Regions from separate parts of the Homo sapiens genome. Here region 2 is linked to region 1. Evidence: promoter capture Hi-C in human tissues and cell types (Jung and others, 2019). All regions are on one chromosome and are shown on one strand. The core of a region is centred on a gene start or on the middle of the fragment in contact, and the rest is flanking DNA. Distances in the headings are between cores, read along the strand shown.

Region 1 (5,329 bases), core at 1,868-4,367:
CTTAACTCTTAATCTGTAAGAGAGTGGGGCTCTGACCTAACTCGGCCAGCCGCCCCTCTCAGGTTTACTCAACATAAACCTGTCCCTGTTGCCTGTTGAACCGCCCTTTCATGTTGCTTTCCTCTTTATTTCTTACAATAATGTCTGCAGATTAGATCGTTGTGTTTATACCATTGTTGGTTTCCTGATTTTGATCATTTGACTGTAGGGGTGATTTGTTTTTTTAGGAAATGTATACTGAAGCAATTAGAGGTAAAGGGGAATCTGTCATTTCTGCAACTGACTCTTGAATGATATGGAAGAATGTGTGCGTGTGTGCGTGTGCGTGCGTGTATGTCTGCACACATGCAGAGAGAGAAAGCGGGAGCTACAGCAAATGTAAAAAGTGAACAGTGAACATCTGAGGAATCTGGAGGAGGCTATATGGAAATTCTGCAAATCTGAAATAATTTCAAAATTAAAAGTTTAAAACTTCCACATCGTCCCTCAGGGAAAATCCACCCCACTCCCCGCTCCTGCCTGGCTCCTCTCCTTCCCCTCCTAGTCCTTCCCTCGCCAGCACCCTCAGCCTGCCTGGAGTCCTTGTCCTGGACCTTTGTGTGACCTGCTTCCTCCCTCCTCCTCCAGCTCTGCTCTCCCCAGATCCCCATTGCACCATCCCTGTCCTCCCCGCCTCCTCCCACCTCTGCTCAGGACCCCTTTCCTCCAAAAACACTTCCATGTCGCCCATCCTCGATGCTGTGTTGGGTGCCTCTTCCCACTGTGCCCCCAGAGGGACTCCCACCCCGCCCCACCAAGCTTTCCCAGCTGAGCTTTAATCACAGTAGAAGTGAATTATTGCCAAGCATTAAATCATTACTGCACCTGGTACCCATGACTTGTCTCTTTGTGTCTTCCTATCCACCATGTGGGCAAGGAAAGCATTATCACCCCCAGTTTACAAACAGGAAACCTGAGGCTCAGAATAGATAATGCATCTGAGTCACAGCTAAGAAAGTGGTTGGGGCACCATTAGAACCAACTTTTTTTGTTTAAACTTTTATTTTAGGTTCAGGGTTACTTATGCAGGTTTGTTATATAGGTAAATGCATGTCCAGAGGGATTGTTGTACAGATTATTTCATCACCCAGATACTAAGCCTAGCACCCAATAGTTATTATTTCCACCCTTCTCCTTCCTCTTACCCTCTACCCTTCAATAGGCCCCAGTGTGTGCCATTCCCCTCTATGTGTCCATATGTTGTCATCATTTAGCCTTCAGTTATAAGTGAGAACATGTGGTATTGGTTTCTGTTCCTGCATTTGTTTGCTAAGGATAATATCCTCCAGCTCCATCCATGTTCTTGCAAGAGATGTGATCTCATTCTTTTTTATGGCTGCATAGTATTCCATGGTGTATGTGTACCACATTTTCCTTTTTTTTTTTTCTTTTTCTTTTTTTTTTTTTTTTTTTGAGACAGAGTCTCACTCTGTCGGCCAGGCTGGAGTGCAACAGCACAATCTCGGCTCACTGCAACCTCCGTCTCCTGGGTTCAAGCGATTCTCCTGCCTCAGCCTCCTGAGTAGCTGGGACTACAGGTGCGTGCCACCACACCCAGCTAATTTTTGTATTTTTAGTAGAGACAGGGTTTCACCATGTTAGCCAGGATGGTCTCGATCTCCTGACCTCGTGATCCGCCCGCCTCGGCCTCCCAAAGTGCTGGGATTACAGGCGTGAGCCACCGTGCTCAGCATGTACCAGATTTTCTTTATTGAGTCTACCATTGATGGGCATTTGATTCCATGTCTTGGCTATTGTGAATCATGCTGCACTGAACATATGCACGCAGGTTCAGTGTCTTTATGATAGAACAATTTATATTCCTTTGGATATATACCCAGTAATGCGATTTCTGCATCAAATGATAGTTCTGTTTTCAGCTCTTTGAGGAATCACCACACTCCCACAGTGGTCAAACCAATTTACACCCCCACCAAGAGCGTATAAGCATTCCTTTTTCTCTGCAACCTCACCAGAACCGGGCTCTTAGCTATCAAGCCTCTTGCTCTCCCCTTCCAGCAGCTGCTAATTATAATAGCTGCATTTTCTAATGTTTGCTGAGCTCAAACGCTGCTGGGCCCTAGGCTAATCACTTGCAGGAATTAGTGCCAGGACGTGGGGCTGGTGACAGTCCCTTCCTCAGAGGATGGTCAGGCGGTATAAGGATCTAACACAAGCAAGACCTGGCACTGTAATCATGGCAGACCACAGGCCATTCTTGTTGTTTCCAGCCACTTTTATGTCTTAGAACTGTTCTAGATTTACAGAACTGAGAAGATAGTACAGACAGTTCCCATACACCGCAGGCCCAGTTTACCCCATAACTGATCTTACTTGAGTATGATACATTTATTACAATTAATGAACAAACAAATGTGGACACATTATTATTAACTAAAATCCACTTTCTTCACTTTTACTGCCTTTTTCTGTTCCACGATCCCATCCAGATGCCACATTACATTTAGTTGTCCTTGTTATTTTTTATTAGTCATAGTCATCATCATACTGACCGGCTGAATCCTCAGGAGAGCCCTTGGAGGTGCTACTGGTCTGTTTACTCACCTGCAGTCCCCATTCCGCTGCCAGCTCTGAGGGCTGTGTCTTCCTGGTCTTGCTCTAATGCCCCTAAAGCCCTGCCTGAGGAGCTGTGACTGTACTAACCAGGCCGGCAGCTCCCAGTGGTCCTGAGGCCTCAAGGCAGGAAGGAGGACCTGGAGAGCCTGTTGGGGCAGGAAGGGAATGCAGAAAGGCTGGGGTGAGAGGGAGACAGTGGAGGGCCTGAGGTCTGCAGTGCCACCTCCTAGCCCTGGATCCCTTCCCACAGCCCATCTGCAACCTCAGTTTTCTGGAAAGCTCCCTCCTCCCTTCCAAAGCCACAGCTGTGAGACAGAAAGCCAGGGTGAGGGGCCACGTGCAGCTTTCTGCCTCCCGCTGCCTTTGGAACAGGAGTTTCACCACAGCCCCTGGTGGCCAGGTGGGTGCTCCTCCAGGTGGGCCCCCTTTGCCCTTACAGGCACCCACTTGCCACCTCCTCCATAAAAGGCCTGGGCCCAGCTCTGGTGGCGAGGGAGTAGGGGGTGTGTCTGTGGCGTCTCATGGCAGGAGGCTCAGCCACGACCTGGGGTTACCCTGTGGCCCTGCTACTGCTGGTTGCCACCCTGGGGCTGGGTAGGTGGCTCCAGCCCGACCCTGGCCTCCCAGGCCTCCGGCACAGCTACGACTGTGGGATCAAGGGAATGCAGCTGCTGGTGTTCCCCAGGCCAGGCCAGACTCTCCGCTTCAAGGTGGTGGGTGAGTGCTGGCAGAGTCCTGGCCCCTGCCTCCCTGGCCACGGGCTGCTGCCAGAAGGGAGCTGGGACCCTTCCCCTGAAGGAGCAAGAACAGAGGCCTCCCTCCAGCCTGGGGGTGTCCAGCCCCCCACCCCCTCACCACAGAAAAGGGCAAGGAGGAGAATCATCACCCAGGGCAGCTTCTCCCACGTTAGTGTGCATGGGAAACACCTGGCCACCTTGTTGAGGTGCAGGTTCTGATTCAGTGGACCTGGGGCAGGGCCAAGCCTCTGCATTTCTTTTCTTTTTTTTTTTTTTTTCTGAGACAGTCTCACTTCTTTCAATCTGTTCTCCAGGCTTGAGTGCAGTTGGCACGATCTCAGCTCACTGCAACCTCCACCACCCAGGTTCAAGCAATTCTCCTGCCTCAGCCTCTTAGTAGCTGGGACTACAGGTGTGTGCCACCACGCCCAGCTACTTTTTGTATTTTTAGTAGAGATGGAGTTTCACGATATTGGTCAGGCTGGTCTCGAACTCCTGACCTCAGGTGATCCACCTGCCTCAGCCTCCCAAAGTGCTGGGGTTATAGGCGTGAGCCACTGCACCCAGCCTAGGCTCTGCATCTCTAACCACGCTCAGTCAAAACTGAGGCTGAGGGTCCATAAACCACTTCCAGCAGCAGGACCTAGTAGGCGTGGCCTGGTGTGGGTTTAGAACTGGGGTTTGGATCTGCAGCTTCTAAACGGGATGATTTTGGACAACTGACCTGACTCATAAGCCTCTGTTTCCTCATCTGCAAGGTGGGGAAGATGAACCTGGCCGTGCTCATGGAACAAGGGCATGGGGACATGCCCACACCCAGGGAATGCCCAGGCTGTTCTGGGGCAACAAGCAGGGTGGACACCTAGGGGGTGTCTCCAAGCAACTGCAGCAGCCACAGTTAACCTGGGAAATGGGTTCAGATCTTTCTACAAAGCCCAGGATTCAAATCCTCATTCTGCCCCTCATTGTGTGCACCTAAGAAAGCTCACGCACCCTCCCTTCCTCAGCTGCCTCAGCCACAGGATGTGGATAACTAAGCTTAAAAGAAGTGATGTGAAATACTCAGGCCAGTGCCTGAGACCCTGTGTATCCCTTCTCCACCTCATCTTCGTGCCTGCCTGCTGCCGTGTGCTGTGAGCAGGGAACCCTAGCTAGAAAGATCCTAAGACCCTCCCATCCCCTTACAGCTGTGGAAACTGAGAGCAGAGAGGGGAGGGGGCTTGCCCAAGACCACACAACAAACTAATAGCAAAGCTAAGGCAAGAACCCAGGTCTCCTGGCTGCTGAGTGGGAACTCCTTCCGAGACCCCAGCAACCTCTCCCTGCACCCTTCAACATCCCTGGCCCCTCCCCTTCCCCCACTGCAGATGAATTTGGGAACCGATTTGATGTCAACAACTGCTCCATCTGCTACCACTGGGTCACCTCCAGGCCGCAGGAGCCTGCAGTCTTCTCGGCCGATTACAGAGGCTGCCACGTGCTGGAGAAGGTAGGGGTTGTTCATGCTCTGGCACAGGGGCAAGCTTGTCCTAGTGTCATGTCAGGCTGAAGAGGCCCCTCATGAACCAGAAAGGAGCCAAAGCCGAAGATCTGTTGAGCTGGTGGGTGAGGGAAACTAAGCTCTGGAAGGTACTTTCTGGAATCCACCATGAATCCAGCTCCCTGCCTAATGGCCAGCTCAGCTCTCGTGGGCCCGTCCCCTGCCTGGGTATGCTAGGTGGCCTCACCTTGCTGCTCTATGATGGCCTCTCACCTGCAGGATGGGCGTTTCCACCTGAGGGTGTTCATGGAGGCTGTGCTGCCCAATGGTCGTGTGGATGTGGCACAAGACGCTACTCTGATCTGTCCCAAACCTGACCCCTCCCGGACTCTGGACTCCCAGCTGGCACCACCCGCCATGTTCTCTGTCTCAACCCCACAAACCCTTTCCTTCCTCCCCACCTCTGGCCATACCTCCCAAGGCTCTGGCCATGCCT
Region 2 (5,423 bases), core at 502-3,001, 460 kb after region 1:
GGCATGGGGGCGCGTGCCTACAGTCCCAGCTACTCGGGAGGCTGAGGCAGGAGAATCACTTGAACCCAGGAGGCGAAGGTTGAGCTCCAGCCTGGGCGACCGAGCAAGACTCCATCTCAGAAAAAAAAAAAAAAGAGATACAGTGTGTGTGCCTGTGTGTGTTCCTTAGCCTCGAGAAACTTACAAAACAGCTAAGTGAAACACGCACTGATAAGCTACACCTATGAGATTTTTTTTAAATTGATACAATTCTTAAAAGCATTCTGATGGAATAATGGTAGAGAGAACACAATTGATTGCTCCGCTAAAGTTGTCAAAACTTTCAGTCCTGCCATTGTCAACATCATCTTCCCCTCCTTTTTCTGAATTATGACTCATGTCAGTCCTGGGACTGCCAAGGTCACCTTTAAGATGCTAAAAAGCAGGGACCAGAAGAAAGCTACACTCAGCCAGTGGAAGACAGCTTCAACAAAGAAGTTATGGAAGGAATTCAGCAATGTGTTTCAGGGCAGGGATCACATCTTAGTCACTGTTACAGCTCCTGAAGCATGAATACCTTTCACATAGCACTAAGTACCTAAATATTTGTCAAATTGAATTTCTGGCATAAAACAGAAGATAGTAATTTTTGGCTGATGAAAACATTTTCCCATCAATGAGTAGGGTTATGACACAACTTTGCAAAAAGTTCAAGTGTGGATTTGGGCCTCTGAGACACACATGCAGAAATGAAGATCTGATCACAGCTGGCAGCCCTGAAGCTTAGAACAACCAGCCTTGAATAATCAACAACATCAAAGTTTTAATGACCTAATATTACAAAACTAAAGAACATAGAGAAATTCTAAGTTTTTATTTTAACTCATACTAAGTAAGATCAAACAAAATCTCCTGGTTTCAACCTTATTCAATTGGGTCTTATTCCAATAGCTTCAGAACTACAGTAACACTAAGAAATATACAAAAATATATCAGCACCTCCAACATATAACAAGGCTATCAAACTGTTTATGTGCCAACACACTCTATGTGGAACTGGACTATCATTTCCTTCCATCACTTATTCAGCCACATGCAAATGAAATGATCTTATGCTGCATGGCCCTTTGTTAAAGGGCTGAGATTTTACCAAGATACTGGCATGTTAGTCTGGTGCTCTACCACCCCACCCCCGCTTAACAGATCTGGACCAGAGAACAGCTGCCCAGGATCAGCTCTGCTACAGTTTTAGGCAGACTAAAATAGAAGTTAAGAGCCAGCAAGTTGCCGAGCACGGTGGCTCACGTCTGAAATCTCAGCACTTTGGGAGGCCGAGGCAGGCGGATCATGAGGTCATGAGTTTGAGACGATTCTGGCCAACATGGTGAAACCACGTCTCTACTAAAAATACAAAAATTAGCTGGGCGTGGTGGCATGCACCTGTAATTCCAGCTACTCAGGAGGCTGAGGCAGGAGAATCGCTTGAACCAGGAGGCGGAGGTTGCAGTGAGCCAAGATCAGGCCATCGCACTCCGGCCTGGGCAACAGAGTGAGACTCTGTCTCAAAAAAAATAATAAAATAAAATTAAAATAAGCCAGCAAGTCACCAGTAAGTGATTACTGGACAAAATGTAAACCTCTTCTTAAAAAACACATATAAGGCATCACCAAGACAATTTCTCTTTGCTTAATATAAAGGCAAGATCTAGATAATTTCTTGACAACTAAGTTTTAATAATCCCCTAGCACTCCAGTAAGAGAATCAAAGTATAAACTGGGTCATCCTATGAAATCTCCCAAGGCCCACAACCAGAGTGTAATCTCAGGATTAAAACCTGCTACAAGCCCCAGAGAGCTTGCTGCCTCCACAATAAGTACTACTGCACTCAAGAAGCAACGAAAGTCTGACCCATATTAATTGTGTTGTTCAAAACATTTCAGGACAAACACATTAAACACTTCTCTCTATCCTACCAAACCCAGACATGCCAGTTAGCAAAAACAACTCCTATCACATCAACCTCACAGTTTCTCGCTCTCTCTTCCTGATCCAGTACCTGGTAGACAAAGCAAATAGTAGGTGCTTGGCAACCATATAGGAACTTGACATCAATGACATGCAGCTCCTCCAGGCGGATGTTGAAGGCCTTGAGTTCTTTATTATCGCGATCTAGTGGAATAACCTTGAAAAGGCCATCATAGAGACGCAGGCCAATCATCCGGCACTCAGGGTCAATGATGCCAATAATGCCGGTCTCTGAGGGGCGGCCAATGCGGTCCTGAGAAACAAAATCGGGATTAGGGAAGAACCTCAACATCCACAGAGCAACAGAGGACGCTGGGCACCACTTGTGCAGAAAAATTTTAGGAGAGGTATTAAAACTAATGGATCTATTTGATAGGCCAAATAGTTGGAGCCCCAATGTCAGTGCATGCCTTTTTCATGAAACACTGAATCTCAATGAATTATTACCCTGTCCCTTGGGTCTTGAGTGAACTACAGGAGTCCTTTCTCCAAAAAGCTCAAACCCATAGTGTCTTCTCCTTATTTCTCTGATCGAATAGAGAGCTGCCCCCAGCACTTTAATTTTTTCCATGAATCATGACAGCCCTACTTAGAAAACTTTCATTGGCCTAAAGCAGCCACCTCACCTGGACATTGCCATGGGCTCGCGTAATGATGTCAATGCTCTCGCCACTCTGTTTATACTCCAGGATGCAGGCATTGTACTTCGCTGTCAAGATAAACAGCAGGTCCTTGCTCTCCCCCTGGAAACCAATATTATGCTATCAAAAGAGGTTCTTTTTAAAACAGGAACAACCTGTCCAGTCTTTAAGCACACCAAATTCTTTAAGAATTTTCCAAATTCTTCTCTCCCTAAAGAGAAAATACATGGTGAGCTTGTAACCCACACTAGGTACACATACACCCTAAGGGCATGTACAAAAAGCCAGAACTGAAGCTGGTAAACATCTAGTTCTCACTTTCATGATTCTCCATCTCTCTGTTCTACAAACAAAGTCTTCATCTATTTCAATCTCAAGCTAATCTCAATCATCCCATTCAAATTCTGAAAGATGAATGTAATGCCTCCTCCACTCCTCCCCAAGTATTTGAAGAAAGAGGAAAAAAAATGTGGGAATAACAACGGAAGCTAAAATGGATCAACAAAGTCCTACTTATTTAACACAGACTCCAAAAAATTGCTGTTTTGTTCAAAGGGTTATAATTAAAATTTTGAACCCACTGCTTTCTTGCCAGATTCAGTTAAGACAACATAAAGCAATGTGGTGGTGATTTGGATGAAAACATTTGCGCTAAAATAATGAAAATACTGATGGTAATTGTTTTTTTTGTTTGGTGTTTTTTTTTTTGGAGATGGAGTCTCGCTCTGTCACCGGGCAATGGGCGCCATCTCCACTCACTGCAACCTCCGCCTCCTGAGTTCAAGCAATTCTTGTGCCTCAGCCTGCCAAGTAGCTGGGATTACAGGCACGTGCCACCACACCCGGCTAACTTTTGTATTTTTAGTAGAGATGGGGTTTCACCATGTTGGCCAGGCTGGTCTCGAACTCCTGACCTCACGTGATCCACCCACCTCGGCCTCCCAAAGTGCTGGGGTTACAGGCGTGAGCCACCATGCCCGGCCTGGTAATTGTTAACATAACTGTAAATGCTTGCTATATGATAGGCCCTATGTTACTGAATCATTTCATCGTCACAACAACCCAGGGGATTTGATCTGAAAGGTGCCTTAAGTGGCACCTAAAGTCAGAATTAACAAGAAATGAAGCCAGGACTGCCCCACTCTGTAGCCTATCCTCTGAAACAAACTGCTTTAATTTCTCCCTTCTAAAGAAGTCAACTTCATAAATGTTTCCCTAATGAATCTCTCCTTTTACTTCTAGAAAGCTTGGTCAAGAGTACATACTGAAATTTGCTATCCAAAGAGAGAAAAAAGAGAAGAGTTTTTCTCCTAAAGCATATTCCACCCATCCCAAGAATTCGCAAAACAACCTAACACAGCCCAAGCACGGTGGCATGCCTACAATACCCCAGCTACTCTACTCCAGAGGCTAAAGTGGAGGGATTGCTTGAGCTCAGGAGTTCAAGACATCCTGGGCAACACTGTGAGACCCCCGTCTCAAAGAAAATAAATAAACAAACAAAAATAACATAAAACAACCTACGACCAACAGTTCCCCCTCCACTGCTTGTCCCAACTGCAACACTTACCTTGGGCCTGAAAAGCTCCATGACCGCAATCTTCCCATACATGCCCACCTCTTTGACGGGCCGAAGCCCCTCGGCGGTGACCACATAGATCTCTAATCTCGTGTTTTTGGCAATCAACAGGTTTAAGTCTTCGGCCGAAGTAAAGTGTCCTGAAAGAACAGACCCTCTAACTTTTGAACTCAGGGGAAGGGCCTCCCATCCCTTCAAAATAATCCTATCACTTATGTCTAAATACCTCCAGAATTCTCATTTACTTCACATACTTCTCCAACTCCCTCCAGCTACTCCCCTTCTTGCCAAATCCGGCACCTCAAAGAGTCTCAGTTCATGCATTCAACAAAGCTACTTCCCTAATCAGACTAAGAAAACTGGACTGGACCTAAGAGCCGTGTGTCCTCCAAATGACAATGACTGCGTAATCCCTTCTCATGCCTCTTGCCCCTCCAATTTTACTCTATTACAGTTACAGTGGCAGGCTCTAATTGAGAATGCCGGAGAAAGTGTTCACTTCTTCCAGTCTTCATCTAAAGTCTCACAAAACTTTTATCTGACAGACCAAGTCAAATGAAGAAGTCCCAGAGCTTTATATGAAAACACTGTTTTGTCCACACCCCCTGCCCTCCTGGCAGTCTACCAATACCTCCATCCACACTCAGCTACCTCCAACTCTGAACAACAGTTTTGTTTTGGAATCATGATTAGGGTGTATATAAACATGCAAGCTTGGGGTCTGCATATTCAGCTGAGAATGTGGGTTAAGATGACTCTTCCCGGGTTCTGAACATCGGTGTCCTTAACAATCCAAGCGCATCGTCAACAAGGCAAACCCAGCACTGGGCCAGGCAAACCAAACCCTCTTCTCCAGCAGGGCCCTCATGTAAACAACAGCCCCAGGCAAAGGGGTTAGCCTGAAGAGGGCTCCTCTCCCTCTGTGGGATAATGCGGGCATTCCTCACATCCCTCCACCTCCTGGGCCCCCCAGACTTCCCCACAGGAAAATCTTGACCCCAAAGTCGTCATTACCACCTCCCCTTTTCCTGGCCACAGAAAGCCAATCTCCGGGCCCAAACGACACCGCACAACCAACTCACACTCCTCTGTCTCACTGGGCCCGCCCTGTTCTCGAGGCCGAATGACCTCCCCAGGACGAAAGGGGACCCTCGAGAGCGGCTTCCAACCCCCAAAAAGCGCGTACAGGGACGACTCT

Evidence for each region. Contacts are between HindIII fragments. The study calls those that stand out against the background at their distance.
Region 2: a contact is called between a fragment that was not itself captured here and the fragment with the promoter of ZP1 in region 1, in 1 of the 25 tissues and cell types used here (hippocampus).

What each region holds. Positions count from the first base shown.
Region 1 is chr11:60,864,425-60,869,753 of GRCh38, forward strand. ZP1 (zona pellucida glycoprotein 1) reads left to right here and starts at 3,118. Exons shown (of 12, transcript NM_207341.4): 1 at 3,118-3,333; 2 at 4,721-4,842; 3 at 5,113-5,329. The coding sequence starts at 3,138. RefSeq lists silencers at 1-6, 1-70. The HindIII fragment of the contact is 7,386 bases long and covers 1-4,633 here.
Region 2 is chr11:61,327,327-61,332,749 of GRCh38, forward strand. DDB1 (damage specific DNA binding protein 1) reads right to left here. Exons shown (of 27, transcript NM_001923.5): 2 at 4,217-4,365; 3 at 2,632-2,748; 4 at 2,037-2,258. Among named protein-coding and RNA genes, the nearest start is that of DDB1, 3.1 kb to the right of the region's middle. RefSeq lists an enhancer at 5,341-5,423. The HindIII fragment of the contact is 5,328 bases long and covers 1-4,415 here.